4 separate regions of the Homo sapiens genome follow, and all the other regions are linked to region 1. The links are contacts of gene promoters, found by promoter capture Hi-C in human tissues and cell types (Jung and others, 2019). All regions are on one chromosome and are shown on one strand. Each heading gives the region's core, a stretch centred on a gene start or on the middle of the fragment in contact. The rest is flanking DNA. Distances are from core to core; before and after follow the strand shown.

Region 1 (3,428 bases), core at 421-2,920:
TCACCCAGCTACAGGAGGACCACGACTGTTTACTGCTGTATTCCAAGCAGAAAGGTTGGCATACAGGAGACCTCAAAAATACGCTACTTTGATCTTGAGGAGAGTGAAAAATCTTACTCATTTTATGTACAAAGCACAGATGTGCATACATTATATAAAAAGAAATAGTTTACGTATGGCATTAAGATTTCATGAAGATTAGAAAAACAATGTTTACAAAAGGTCCTTACAAAGGTAGTAATTCAAGAAAAGATCAATAAACGATGTGTTAAAGTAAGATTTTTGGAAGCTCAAATTCAGGCAATACAAAAGCCAGCAATATATCTTGCTACTCGAATGCCTCTATTTCACCTCAAACTCACAGATAAAACTGAACCCAATATGTCCTTGTCCATTAAAAAGCAAATCACCAAGAAAGTAACAAAAGATTCCCTTCAATGTCTCTTTTATTGACAGTGGTCCCAAAACTCCTGGTCAATGAATTCAAAACCCAAATCTTGCAGGTAGGACTTAACCTCATCTGCTGCCAAATAGCTGGCTATGTGACCTTGGGCAGACCACTTCACTTTTCTGGACCTCAGTCTCCCCAGTCAGTTGGACAGTCTAAGCCAGGCTCCAGAGCTGAGACCCTACGTCTGGCTCAAGAACTTGGTGCAGAAACAGAACGAAGATTATTAAGTTTGTGAACGTCTATGGGAACTGACAAGTGAAAGACAAAAGCTGAAATCCCTACCAAAACGGCTTGCCCAAGCTCTATCCTTTTCCCTCTTCCCTCGATGGATCAAAGGCGGAAAAGCGGTGTTTACTAGCAACTCTGTTTCGGGTCGTGAGAATCTTCATACACCTGTCTATAGGCGCGCCAGAGCGGTGAAGGGCCCGAGCGGTGCAGGGCTGGGCCGCAAGCCTCACAGTCGCACGTTCCACCAACCACCAGCCGGGGCCCGGAAGCGCGCCCGGAAATCGAGGCCCTACTAAGTTTTAGACTGCGACCTCGGCGCCCCCACGGTCAGGCCCGCACCCGTACTCAGATCCTCCCGACCTACAAAAGGCCCCGCCACGCGGCCCACGCACCCCGGCAAACTCGCAGGCCCCACGATGGCGGGGCGGCGGCGCGAACACACAAAGGAGGCGTCGTCAGCGGGGAACAAAAACCCTGCCCGGGTCTTCCCCCTAACAGCACATCCTGCCCGACTTTCCAAGTGACCTTGGGGGCGTTCCTGCCCCTCCCAGAGTCTCAGTTTCCCTTCCTAGGCTAGGAACTAAGCCCCATGGCCGCGGCCCCCCAGGGTGAGCCGAGACCCAGACGCAGACCTCCTAACTTCTGTTGCCCGCGCCAAGCCGGGCTCGGTGCGCCCGCGCGGACGGCAGTGCGAGCGACCAGAGCTGGCTCGAGGTCCCGGGCTGCAAAGCCTCGGCTGGGTCAAGCCGCGCAGCGCGGCTCCCCCAAGAGGCGCGGGCCGAGGCCTCTGTAGGCCGCGAAGCTGCCTAAACCTCGCATCTGCAAGGCCCTGACTTACCGCTGCTTTCCCGCAAAGCTCGGCCTAACCTGGAGCTAGTTAGGTCCGCAGGCGCCACCGCCGGCGCACTCCGGAGAAGAAGCTCCTTCTTCAGCCGCCCAGGAGAGCTCCTCGAGAAAGATGCCGCCGCCTCAACAGCAACCCACTTCCGCTTCGGAGGCCTCGGCTCCGCCCCCCATCATGTCCCCATTGGCCGCCCGCCTACTCTACTTCCGCGGTCGGCCGGGTAAGGACAAATTTTTTAATCCTATTGGATAAGAAAACCATCTGTTACCACTTTAAAACGCGCCTCTTTCCGCCCCCGCCCACAATCGAGCGCACTAACTCGCACCTTCCGGCAAGAGACGGCGCGGGCGCGCCCCGCCCGCAAGGTTTTTCGGGAGTCACGGTCTGAGGGCGACCCGGGCGACCCGGTCGCCCGTGCCCGGCTGCCACTGACCGCTCCAACGCCGCCAGGGACGACCCGCCAGCTGCCTCCGGAGCCGAGCAGGCCCCGAACCTTCCCATTCCTAGATTTCCAGCCGCACAACAGCCGCGGTGCCCCTGGCTCGACGCAGCTGGCCGGAGGCGCGGAGCTGGTCGTTCGTCCCGCCCGCCGTTCCGCGCCCCTCTCCCGGCTCTTGTTTCCTCGCCTCTTAACGAGGCCTTTGTGAGGAAGGTTGCTGGGCCTTGGGACTCTGACGATCGGCTGGAAACCAGGCCTGGCCCTGTTTCAGCATCCCCGCGTGCCAAGCCCTGGGCCGGCGTGCGGGTCCCTGCCCCTGCGAGGAAGCTGGGACTTTTGCAGGCCTGGGTGGAGACGTGTACATAACAGAGGAAGAGTGTGGAGGATTGGAGGACTCAGGGCAGCACGGCAGAGGTGCATGCAGGTCCCCGGTCGGACTGGAGAATGGGCGGTGGGTTTCTTGAGCTCCAGTCCCTGAGCTCGACTTTGACGTGGGTTTAGCAACCAGGAAAAAAGCCCACCTTGTCCCTGCTGCCTGAGAATACCCAGACCTTAGTCCATGGCCAGCATCTCTGGTCCCTCGGCACCCTCAGGCAACGTGAAGGTCACCCCAAATGCCTTGGGTTACATTGTTTCCTTACAGTGAGTTTGTTTGTTTTAGTGGCGCGATCTCGGCTCACTGCAAGCTCTAACCTCCTGGGTTCACGTGATTCTCCTGCCTCAGCCTCCCGAATAGCTGGGATTACAGGCGCCTGCCACCACGCCCGGCTAATTTTCTTTGTATTTTTAGTAGAGATGGAGTTCCATCATGTTGGCCAGGCTGGTCTCGAGCTCCTGACCTCAGGTGATCCACCCTCCTTGGCCTCCAAAAGTGCTGGGATTACTGGTGTGAGCCACCTCGCCCGGCCACCTTACAGTGAGTTTCTAACCTCGAAAATGGAGTCAAATAACGGAATGACAAGGCAGATAGAAACCAGAGCATTAACGTTTTTGTGTTGCATTTACAAACAATATGTGTTTGCTATTTTTCGTAATTGTAAGGAAATCTGGCATGGTAGAGTATCTGATAGATAAATGTAATTCTCATGTAAAATATCTAAGTATTTGTGTTTTTTGTTTGTTTGTTTGTTTGTTTTGAGACGGAGTCTCGCTCTGTCGCCCAGGCTGGAGTGCAGTGGCGCGATCTCGGCTCACTGCAAGCTCCGCATCCCGGGTTCACGCCATTCTCCTGCCTCAGCCTCCCAAGTAGCTGGGACTACAGGCGCCCGCCACCACGCCTGGCTAATTTTTTTTTTTTTGTATTTTTTAGTAGAGACGGGGTTTCACCGTGTTAGCCAGGATGGTCTTGATCTCCTGACCTCGTGATCCACCCGCCTCGGCCTCCCAAAGTGCTGGGATTACAGGCGTGGGCCACCGCACCCAGTCTTTTTTTTTTTTTTTTTTTTTGAGACGAGGTGTCACTCTGT
Region 2 (3,428 bases), core at 650-3,149, 310 kb after region 1:
ATCCACGATTGCATCTCTGTTCTGGACTCATTTGAGGAAGATGTTACTGTTTTAGTTCAGACTTGAGGAGACTGCAGTCAAGAGATGTTCTGTGACTCGTTCAAGTTCACACAGCAAGTGACAGAACCTGTCTGTGACGCACAGTCCCACCTCGAGCCCGCACCAAGCTCCCCACAGCCCAACAGCCCTTCCTCTCCCCATGCATGGGATTTGTAAGTGACATAAAGTCTTATGGCAGTTCCTACATGGGTTAGGGGGAAACCTCCTTCTTCAGCCTTCCCTGATCACGTGTCAGGAGTTTTGTAACCCCAAGGACATTTCAGGGTTGGAAGTTTAGGGCCAGCAGCTTGTTGGCCTCTGGAGGAGCAGCGAGTGTTGCATGTTGTGAGTGGAGGCTCCGCCACATTCTTAACTTCACATAGCATTGCTGGAGTTTACACTGATTCTTTTTAACTAATAAAGGGCTCCATTTCCTCTACATGGAATCAGACTGGAACTGTGACTGGAAGACTTTCAGCCAAGCATCCTGTAAGTTGTTTAAACAACTGTCTTTGTTAAACGCCATTTTCCTGCCTTGCTATTGAAGTTTTTTCTCCATATGTGTTTGCCTGTGCACTTTCTGTTTCCAAGAGGGGACTTCATACTGATATGTTGTGTTTTATTCTGTTTATTCTGAGAACATAGCAGGAGAACAAGACAGATGGGTTCTCTTCTCATGAAGTGCTGAGTTAGCAAGAGGGGGGCTTCACACCCAGAAACCCATGCACTCCAGTGTGCAGGCAAAAAGGACACCCGTACCCCATCTTCCTTTTCAGATTTGTGCCAGACAGGTGGCTTCTGATTTCCAGAAATGTGTTGAAGTATCTGATGCTATGATGAACAGCTCCATTTTTTGGTGGTTGTTGAAGCTGTATCTCTGATGAAGAAAAAAAAAAAAAAAGCTCTAAATTCCCTTGAACTTATGATGCAGCTTGCATCACACTTAAAGCACTTAACTTTCTAAATGGCTCTGTATTTTGAACTAAAAAAGACTCATGATTAATTTCTCATTATAGAAAATTCCTTAGATACAGAAAAGAAATAAAAATAGTAATAAGTCACTTGTTATCCACTGTGCAGAACTGTGGTATCTATCTTTCCACACTTTTTGCTAAGCACATATATTTATAAAATACAATTTTTTAGGCCAGGCGCGGTGGCTCATGCCTGTAATCCCAGCACTTTGGGAGGCCGAGGCGGTGGATCATGAGGTCAGGAGTTCAAGACCAGCCTGGCCAATATGGTGAAACCCCGTCTCTACTAAAAACACAAAAATTAGCTGGGCGTGGTGGCGGGTGCCTGTAGTCTCAGGTACTAGGGAGGCTGAGGCAGGAAAATGGTGTGAACCCAGGAGGCGGAGCTTGCAGTGAGCCGAGATAACGCCACTGCACTCCAGCCTGGGTGACAGAGCGAGACTCTGTCAAAAAAAAAATACAATTTTTTTCTACAAAAATAAAGCCATGCTATTTTATATTATGCTTTCTTATTTTAACATCTCTTGATATCATTCTACATTAATATTGATTTGAATCTATATTTAAATTTAAATATATGAATTAAATATGTGAATTATTTAAGTACACACTAACATATATATATAAATATGAATATGTATTCATGGTAAAGAAATACAAGTATGTGGAGGTTTACAGAATGAGCAAATGTTAGTCATCTTTCCCTTCCCTCCGTAACATGTGTCTGTCCCGTGGGTTCCCTCCATTAAGGGTCAGGCCTTCACCCAGGCATTTGCATAGATGGTGTACCGAGTGCATGCAGGCAGAGGGACACACTCAGGTGACTGTGTGAGGAAGAGGAAGAGAGGCTGGGATGGGGTGAGTTTGCGCTAATCGTGTGGCCTCTTGGGTGCATGGACACCCACTCTTGGTCAGTCAGCTCTCGGGCTGCCAGCTGTCTCTGGCCTTGCACTTTAGGGAGCTCTTCTGGGGTCTTTATCTAGCGAAGAGTGGTAGTAATAGCAATAGTAATGTGAATACCAATACCAGCACCAATATCCATGTGAATACCAGTGCCATCTCCTCTGAATGCAGGCACTGCTGCCACGTTACCCTTGGGCTAATTTCTCAACCAACCACAACTGCTGTAGTTTCTCTTAGTTGATACTTCTTATCTAAGAGTTATTTAGGAATTCTGCTGAGAAACTTTTCGTGGAGGTCCTTGCTTTTGTTTTTATGCAGTTATAAGTTTCTTTTTCCATTACATTTTCAGTAAATCTCTTGCTGTGTTTTATTCTCTTCCAGAAGTTTCTGAAGGGTCTGGTTTGTGAGTAGCACTCCTCCCAGGTTCTCAGTGAAGCTCTAATTTTACCTATTTATTTTTCTGTTATTTCAGTTGAACTTTTGGAAAGATGAGATGTAAACATAACATGTGCATTCAGCCATGACCTTTAACTGGAAGTTTGTGTCATCTTTTTAACAGCTGCATTGTATTCCATTTAATGGCTGCCCCTATTGATGGTCATTTAGATTGTTTGCAGTTTTAATTATTTTATAGAAATACCATAAACATACCTGTACTTTATCATAGCAATACCATACAAACTTCAATAGCAATACCATAACCAATACCATGAACATTTTTGGTACTTTTTTCTGTTGATTTCTATAGTGCAATTTCCTAGAGATAGAATTTCTGAGTCACAGTATATATGTATTTTTAAGGCTTTATGTTGCCAAATTAGCCTCTCGCCAAAAATAACATTCCCACCACATAGTATGTGAAATGCTTGGTCCCTTAATCCTTGCCAACACAAGGAATTTTCGTTTTGATTACTTTCCTGACTCATTTTTTCAATTTCCATTTCTTTAAATATTTGTTGAGGTTGACTACATGAAACAATTATTCTTCTTTGAATTGCCTGTTCATGTCATTTGCCCATTTCTCTGGAGGGTGTTTATTTTTTCCTATTGGTATGGAAAAGCTCTTTATATAATAAAAATTAACCCTTTATGAAATGTTGAATTATTTTCCTCCAATTTTCTTTTGCCTTTTAACTTTTAAGATATATATTCTGGTTTGCCATACTTAAAATGTCTTTTTTTTTTTTTTTTTTTTTTTTTTGTTGAGATGGAGTCTCGCTGTCGCCCAGGCTGGAGTGCAGTGGCGTGATCTCAGCTCACTGCAAGCTCTGCCTCACTGGTTCATGCCATTCTCCTGCCTCAGCCTCCCGAGTAGCTAGGACTACAGGCACCCGCCACCACGCCCGGCTAATTTTTTTGTATTCTTAGTAGAGATAGGGTTTCACCATGTTAGCCAGGATGGTCTCAATCTCCTGACCTTGTGATCCGCCCGCCTCGGCCTCCCAAAGTGCTGGGATTGCAGGTATGAGCCACCGCGCCTGGCCTTAAAATGGCTTTTTAAAATTATACAAA
Region 3 (3,428 bases), core at 248-2,747, 270 kb after region 1:
CCTGGTGCCACCATCCCTCCCTGCAGCATTCTCCCAAATAGCTGCATGGTTTACTGCCTCATTCCTTTATGTTTTTCTCTGAACAAACAAAAAGTAAACTATGAAAACACAAAGGTACAGAGTAGTATATACATCCACCCAGGCCAACATTATCAAAGGTTTTTCCTTACTTCCTTCTGTCCCTTTCCTGGGGAAGGGGGAGAGGACTGGGATTAAAGAAATTCCCAATCTATTGTTTTGCCCTCTCATGACTCTAAAAACCATGGGCTTTTTTTTTTTTTTTCCAGAGCCACAGTGCCATTTTTAAACTTAACAAGTTGTGTACGCAGTCCAAATTTGAAGCTACCTGATTGTCTCAAAAATGTCCTTCTACAGTTGACTTGTTGGGATCAGGACATAGCATTGGGTGGCCATGTCCCTAGTTTTTTCTAATCTGGAGCGTTCCTCAGCCCCTCTCCCTATCTTGGAGGAGGTCCCGTGTCCTGGATTCATTTGTTTGCCTCATCATGAAGTTCTTTCACTTGTTCTGTCTCCTCTTCTCCATATTTTCTGTAAACTGGAGTTAGCTCTAAATGCTTGATTATTTGGGTCCAGCTTGTTTTGCGCAGCACTTCCTAGGTGGAGCTGTAAGCTTCATACTCCATCTGTGATGCAGTTGGATGGCCGGATTTAGCAAATTAAAATATAGGACACTAAATTTGAGTTTCAGATAAATAACTAATTTCTTAGTATACGTATGTCCCAAATATTGCATGGGACATACTTATACTAGAAGAATACATCCCTAAAAAATATTCGATTTTTTTCAGATAATTATTCATGATTTTTCTGAAATTCAGACTTAACTGGTATCCTCCTGACTTCCCTTAGTGATGCAATTGGGTTGTCCCAGTTTTCATGGTGCTGAGAGGGAGCAGTGGGTTCAGGTGGTGTCAACACGATCCCTTCCTTATAAACTTCTCCCCCAAACTTTCCCTTAATGGTTTTGTCCATTGATTAGGATCATCTAAATCACTTATTTAATTCCGGCTAGTAAGATGGTGATTTTTCTAATTCTATCATTTCTTCCACATTTAGTGGCTAAAATTTCCTGTAAAGAACTTTCCTCTACCAACTAGGCTTTTGTTTACCTTATCCTTCATGTCTTTCCTCAAGAGTTACCTTGGCTAGGAACAGTGGCTCAGGCTGAGGTGGGAGGATGGCTTGAGGCTGGAGTTTGAGACTAGCCTGAGCAACATAGTGAGACCCAATCTCTACAAAAAATTTAAAAATTACCCGGGTACAGTGGCATGTGCCTATAGTTCCAGCTACTCTAGAGGCTGATGTTGGAGGATCGCTTGGGTCCAGCAGTTTGAGCCTGCAGTGAGCTGTGATTGCACTACTGCACTCTAGCCTGGATGACAGAGTGAGGCCCTGTCTTAAAAAAAAAAAAAAAAGAATTACCAAGCTAAAAAAAAAAAAACAGAATTACCTTATCAGACCTTCCTTGACCACCCTGTATGAGATGGTACCCCACTGCCAACCCCACCACATGACTTTCATTTGTGTTCAGTAGTGTGTTCATTAATGTATCCCCAATATCTAAGAACAATGCTACAAAGCAAGTGCTTAATCAATATTTATTCAATATTATCATTGAATGAATGAATGTTGAGGCTTAATTTTTATAAGTTCTAGGACAATCAAATTAATACATTGCCTCAAGTACCATAAATTGGAAATAATAATCCCAATCCTATGATTATATCTTTGAGATTCAAAATAAATTTAAATAAATCACATTTAAATTAGCACACATACTTTTTTGCACAAAAACATGTTTAATAACATTTATTAAATGACCTGTGCAAGGCCTTTCACATACACACTCTCCCTTCACCTTCACATTCTCTCTGTACGTTTGTTATACCTTATTCACTCCATTTTACAGAGGAGGAAGCCTCAAATCTAGCTTTTATATATATAAATATATATATGTATGTGTGCATGTATATACATATACATAAATACATGTTTTATTTTAAGAGCCAGAGTCTCTCTTTGTCGCCCAGGTTGGAGTGCAGTGGTTGTGATCATGACTCATTGCAGCCTCAACCTCCCAGGCTCAAGTGATTCTCCCTCCTCAGCAACCTCACCCCAGTAGCTAGGACTTTAGGACTACAGGCATGCACCACCACGCCTGGCTAATTGCCATTTAGCTTACAAGGTATTCTTTTTGTTGTTTGTTTTATCAAGATAAAAATAATCTCTTATTAGCGGAAGATAGTGTAGTTGGTAGATTACCTCATCACAGAACTCTTGAGTTTCAAGGATGAAGGAGCAGTAAAGGGAAGTGATCTCCATGGCCCCAGTTCTTCTCCTTCATAAGCTCTTTACTCCCTCTTGGACACCCTCCTCACCGGTCCAGCCAAGCCAAGATCTGAAGCTGTGTTATTGGCGCTTTACCCTCCCTACCATCCTGGTCGCCCTTTTCAAGGGAAACCAAGGTGAAATCACACAAAGTGCAAAAGGCCTACAAATGTCTTTCTGTGGAACAAGTCCAAGCAAAATCTAACTGCAGTTTGGCTAAGTGTGCAAAGCTCATTAGGCTCTTGATTTCTTTCTTCCTCAGCTCTAACCAAAGAATCTTAATGTGTTAATGAACATTTACTATAAAGAGGGATTGATGGCTTTGGTAGCTTAGAGTTTGGACCCTGGCAGCAGGAAGATATGGTCTCAGATCCCAGCATTGCCATTTGTTAGTCATTTAACCCTGGCCAAATTGCTTAACCTCTTCAAGACTAAGTTTTCTCATCTGTAAAATGGTTCTAGTGCATGCCAGATAGGATAGTGATGAGGTTTCAGTGCAACAATCACTTCACACACAATGCTGCGAAGTGTCCAGCGTGGTATCTGGCACATGGTAAGTATTCAGTCAATTTTAACAATTGTGAGTCCCATATTCAAAGTGCTTATGGTGTAATGGAGAGACAAACGTTCAAGGCACATTATAATACAGCAAGTGTACTTCCCACTGTACTACATGTGTGGATAGGAGTACAGAAGAGATACAGAAGAGGGAGCAGCCCCCTGCCTGGGGAATTAGGGCATACCTTCCTGAAGATGGCCCTTGAACAGTTTGTGAAAACTGTGGGAAGAGAATTGTAGTCAAGAATACAGTATATACAGTGACCCAGGAGCAAAGCAGGACGTGGCACAGCCTGTGGTGGAGGAAAGGGAATTTAGTGCGACGAGAGGGTAGAATGTTTGAGGGGAGCTCTGGGAGAACGGGCTAGAGAGTCATCTTGGGGCCTGGCTCTAAAGAGCCCAGAGTAGGTGTACTTTGCTCAGGAATGTAGGTCTTATTCTACAGGTAATGGGGTGTTTCCCAGGGATAAGCACTTGACAGCTGCGTGACCTTGGGTACCTTATCTCGTCTCTCTGTGTCT
Region 4 (3,428 bases), core at 373-2,872, 280 kb before region 1:
CAGCCCTGAACTCAGCTGAGTCACCCGGGGCTTCCCGGTGTAGGCTGTGTTAGGACGTGCACTTCCTTTGTCATTTGAGGGGAATTCTCAAAAATTATGTCACTGAGATACAGTCAGAATTGTAGGGTACACACGAGTTTCAGGAGACTTTTCATTCAGCTCTGTAGTTGTTAGTGGGGGTTGGTTTGGGTTGTGGCTTCGGTGACTCCTGACCCTGCGTGGGGCAGAGGTTAGATTCCTGTGTCCAGAATCACCTGGTTGAACCCGATTGTCTGCAGACAGGACAGTGTCATGGGCTCCAAAGGAGGTAAGCAGGGTGCATGGCCAGGCCCACCCTGGGCAGCTGGGGGCCCCCTCACTGGAGATCCTCTGGTTTACAATGGGATTCAGCTTCCTGCCTTCCCTGCTGTCTGTGATAATGGCAAATCTCTGGCAATGAGAAGACTTTATCATGTCTGGTGTGCCAATCCCTGCAGACATTATGGCTTTAGAATATTTACATTCCAAATATTTAAAAGACAAACAGCTCAAACTGGTAGGTGGGACGGGATAAGGACAGTGTGAAAGGTGGTGTGGCCTGAAGACCTCCCATCCGGGCTCTGGCCTGGGCCAGGTGGGGTGGGCCTGGGCAGGGAGAAGGTGGTCCCTTGTCCCTGCTTTGCTTCTCTACCAAATGAATGATCACTACCCGCTGCACTGGGGGACGCAGTGATAATCTGTGGCCTCAGCCTCTGGGTCTAGCTTTCTCCCCTCTTGCTGTATGTGACAGAGTGTCTTCTCTCTGTCCCTTCCTCATGCAGTCGGAACACACAGATGGGCACACCTCTGTCCAGAGTGTTATTGAGAAGTTGCAGGAAGAAAATCGACTGTTAAAACAGAAGGTGACTCACGTGAGTGTCTTTCACATTTCGTTTGAGAAGAACACATGGCTTACAAACTGTAAGTGAGGGTTCTTTCCTTGGCTGATGCCCAGAGTCGCCCCCCGCCCTCTGGCCACTAGGACTTGATACACACAGTCCCTAGAGACTGGACTTTTTTGCTTAAAACGACGTACGGGACATGTCCTGTCCATCTCCATCCCCCTAAAATTAATCCACAAGTCAGTAAAGGAGATGCAAGAGTTAGCAGCAGGAGGTCCATTTTCTAAGACAGCAAAGCTGCACCGAGTCCACCTCCGTTCATGCTGCTTGCGTACGGGTGTCATCGTGCTGCCTCAGGATTCTCTAGCGGGCCTAGTGTCTGCTCTCTACAGAACAGGGAGGGGCAGCTTCCATTTAAGAGGAAACTCTCACTCAGCGAATCACTGCTAATACATAATTCACACTGGGTGCTGGCTTGAGCAGCTTTGTCAGCTGCCTTCACCGTGAGCTTTCCGGCTCCACCTCTTCAGGTTGAAGACCTCAATGCCAAGTGGCAGCGCTACAACGCCAGCAGGGACGAATACGTGAGGGGGCTCCATGCGCAGCTCAGGGGGCTGCAGATCCCCCACGAGCCCGAGCTGATGAGGAAGGAGATCTCCCGGCTCAACAGACAGTTGGAAGAGAAAATAAATGACTGTGCCGAAGTGAAGCAGGAGCTGGCGGCCTCCAGGACGGCCCGGGATGCTGCGTTGGAGCGGGTGCAGATGCTGGAACAGCAGGTGTCTGTCCCTCGGGCTCCGGACGGCACTGACCAGATGTCTGCTGGCCGGTGGTGGCCGAAATCATGGGACAGGCTGGGCTGAAGGCTTGGTGGCACTGAGTGGGCAGTGGTCACTGTGGGGGTGGGAGAAGCCTGGTGGGGCGCTTCCTCCTTCCTTGAGCAGAAATGTGTGTCTCGCCTCTCTTCAGATTCTCGCTTACAAGGATGACTTCATGTCAGAAAGGGCCGATCGGGAACGGGCTCAAAGTAGGATTCAAGAACTGGAGGAAAAGGTCGCCTCTTTGCTGCACCAGGTGTCCTGGAGACAGGTAGAGTATGAGGGCGTTTTTCTTCCTGCTTAGGTTTAGTGTTTTTGTTTCTCTTCTCATGAGATTAGAGCCTTTCTGTGTCTGCCAAGGCCCTGATTTGCTGGTGATGAGGGTTGTGGCGAGCCCCTCCCTGCTGTGGGGAGAGCCACCTGGCCTGGTACCTGGGCGTGGTCATGGAAAGCCTCCCTGTTATACTGTTTAGTTATGGAGGAGGCTGGCATGGCGGCCTGTCTTAGCAGAGGTGGCTGTCCTCAGGGCCCGTCCGTCACTGTCATGCAGTCAGAGAGCATATCTCGGGCCTCAAAGTGTGAGCTCCCTACGTGTCCTGACCTGTCTGTGAGACGGGAACCCCGCTTACCTTGTCATGTAGATGTGATGGCCCTGGGTGTCCAGTAACATCCCCAGCTCAGCCTGGCACGTGGAGCTGGGCCTTGCAGGGCAGGGGCCCCTCACCCCACCCCTGGGCTCAGTGCTTTTCCTACCATGGGGTGCCTTGAGGGAGGCCTGGCATGAATGGGAACCGATGAAGTTCCTCAGTGTGTGACCCATGGCCTCTTCCTTCTCCTCACTGACTTGTGCTCTGCAAAAATCCAGGAGAAGTTTATGTAGCTCCTCATCAAGTACCTAACACACTTTTGGCCCTGGGAATAGCCTGGGCCCCACTCAAAGAGCTTCCTCTCCTGGCACAGACTGAACAGTAGTGATGCCTCTTGAGAATCGATGCGTCCCGGGCTGGAGCTAGGACGTCAGCCGTGTTTCAGGGTGTGAACAGGGACCCTGGGGCTGTGAGGCCACCCCCCACTGCCCTGTTCCGAGCAGCCACTGGGCCTCAGTGGTTTCTGCTTCTCCTCCGCATGAAGGGCACGGGAGAGTCATGGTGGACTATGGGACTAACCCTGGGACTAAGTCTGCAGCAGAGGGCTGGACAGGTTTTTCTGGCCTTCATGAATTCAAGGAAGCATGTGATTTGGATTGAAGGAGCACTATTGGTACAATCGTGAGGATGGTCTCAGGCCGCCTCTTGAAGATTTTGGACCAGATGAACTGGTTCCAGACTTGCAGGCCCAGATTCTTACCCCCGGGGGTAAAGTTCCTGGTGGGGCCTGCAGACCTTGTACTAAGTGGCCTCTGGTTCCCTTTCAACAGTAGCCTGTGGCCCCTCGAGGGTTGCTCAGTCCCTAGATGGCACAGCCAGGGACAGTGGTGCTGAAGGCATGGGTGATAAGCTGTAGTCCCACTGGGGAAAGTCCACATTCAGACAGGAAGTGGAAGCACCAAGGCCTGCTGGAATGAAGTTCCCAGGCAAGCAGTGAGGGCCACAGGCTGCAGTGCTTCAGGACGGATGTTTGGAGAACATGTGCCAGATCATGCCAGGTGGTTGGTGGGGCCAAGCCAGGGACACCTCTTGCTGCTACTGAAGGACCCCCTGAGCCCCAGAGTGCTCAGCACCCCCAGGCCCCACAGAGGAGGTGCAGAGTA

What was found. Contacts are between HindIII fragments. The study calls those that stand out against the background at their distance.
Region 2: a fragment that was not itself captured here is called in contact with the fragment with the promoter of RNF4 in region 1 in 3 of the 25 tissues and cell types used here (H1 embryonic stem cells, IMR-90 fibroblasts and aorta).
Region 3: a fragment that was not itself captured here is called in contact with the fragment with the promoter of RNF4 in region 1 in 2 of the 25 tissues and cell types used here (dorsolateral prefrontal cortex and mesendoderm cells).
Region 4: a contact is called between a fragment that was not itself captured here and the fragment with the promoter of RNF4 in region 1, in 1 of the 25 tissues and cell types used here (dorsolateral prefrontal cortex).

The regions. Positions count from the first base shown.
Region 1 is chr4:2,467,348-2,470,775 of GRCh38, reverse strand. RNF4 (ring finger protein 4) reads right to left here and starts at 1,670. Exons shown (of 8, transcript NM_002938.5): 1 at 1,518-1,670. It overlaps LOC107986250 (a long non-coding RNA gene), which reads left to right and starts at 1,825. Exons shown (of 2, transcript XR_001741551.3): 1 at 1,825-2,376. RefSeq lists enhancers at 1,028-1,147, 1,192-1,764, 1,448-1,807 and a silencer at 1,958-2,127. The HindIII fragment of the contact is 20,287 bases long and covers 1-3,428 here.
Region 2 is chr4:2,153,888-2,157,315 of GRCh38, reverse strand. POLN (DNA polymerase nu) reads left to right here. Exons shown (of 26, transcript NM_181808.4): 16 at 463-528. Among named protein-coding and RNA genes, the nearest start is that of HAUS3, 87 kb to the left of the region's middle. The HindIII fragment of the contact is 6,445 bases long and covers 1-3,428 here.
Region 3 is chr4:2,193,494-2,196,921 of GRCh38, reverse strand. The region is part of intron 6 of POLN (DNA polymerase nu); the gene reads left to right. Among named protein-coding and RNA genes, the nearest start is that of HAUS3, 47 kb to the left of the region's middle. The HindIII fragment of the contact is 7,366 bases long and covers 1-3,428 here.
Region 4 is chr4:2,742,908-2,746,335 of GRCh38, reverse strand. It overlaps TNIP2 (TNFAIP3 interacting protein 2), which reads left to right. Exons shown (of 6, transcript NM_024309.4): 3 at 801-890; 4 at 1,391-1,639; 5 at 1,830-1,949. Among named protein-coding and RNA genes, the nearest start is that of TNIP2, 12 kb to the left of the region's middle. RefSeq lists enhancers at 1-398, 994-1,494. The HindIII fragment of the contact is 7,933 bases long and covers 1-3,428 here.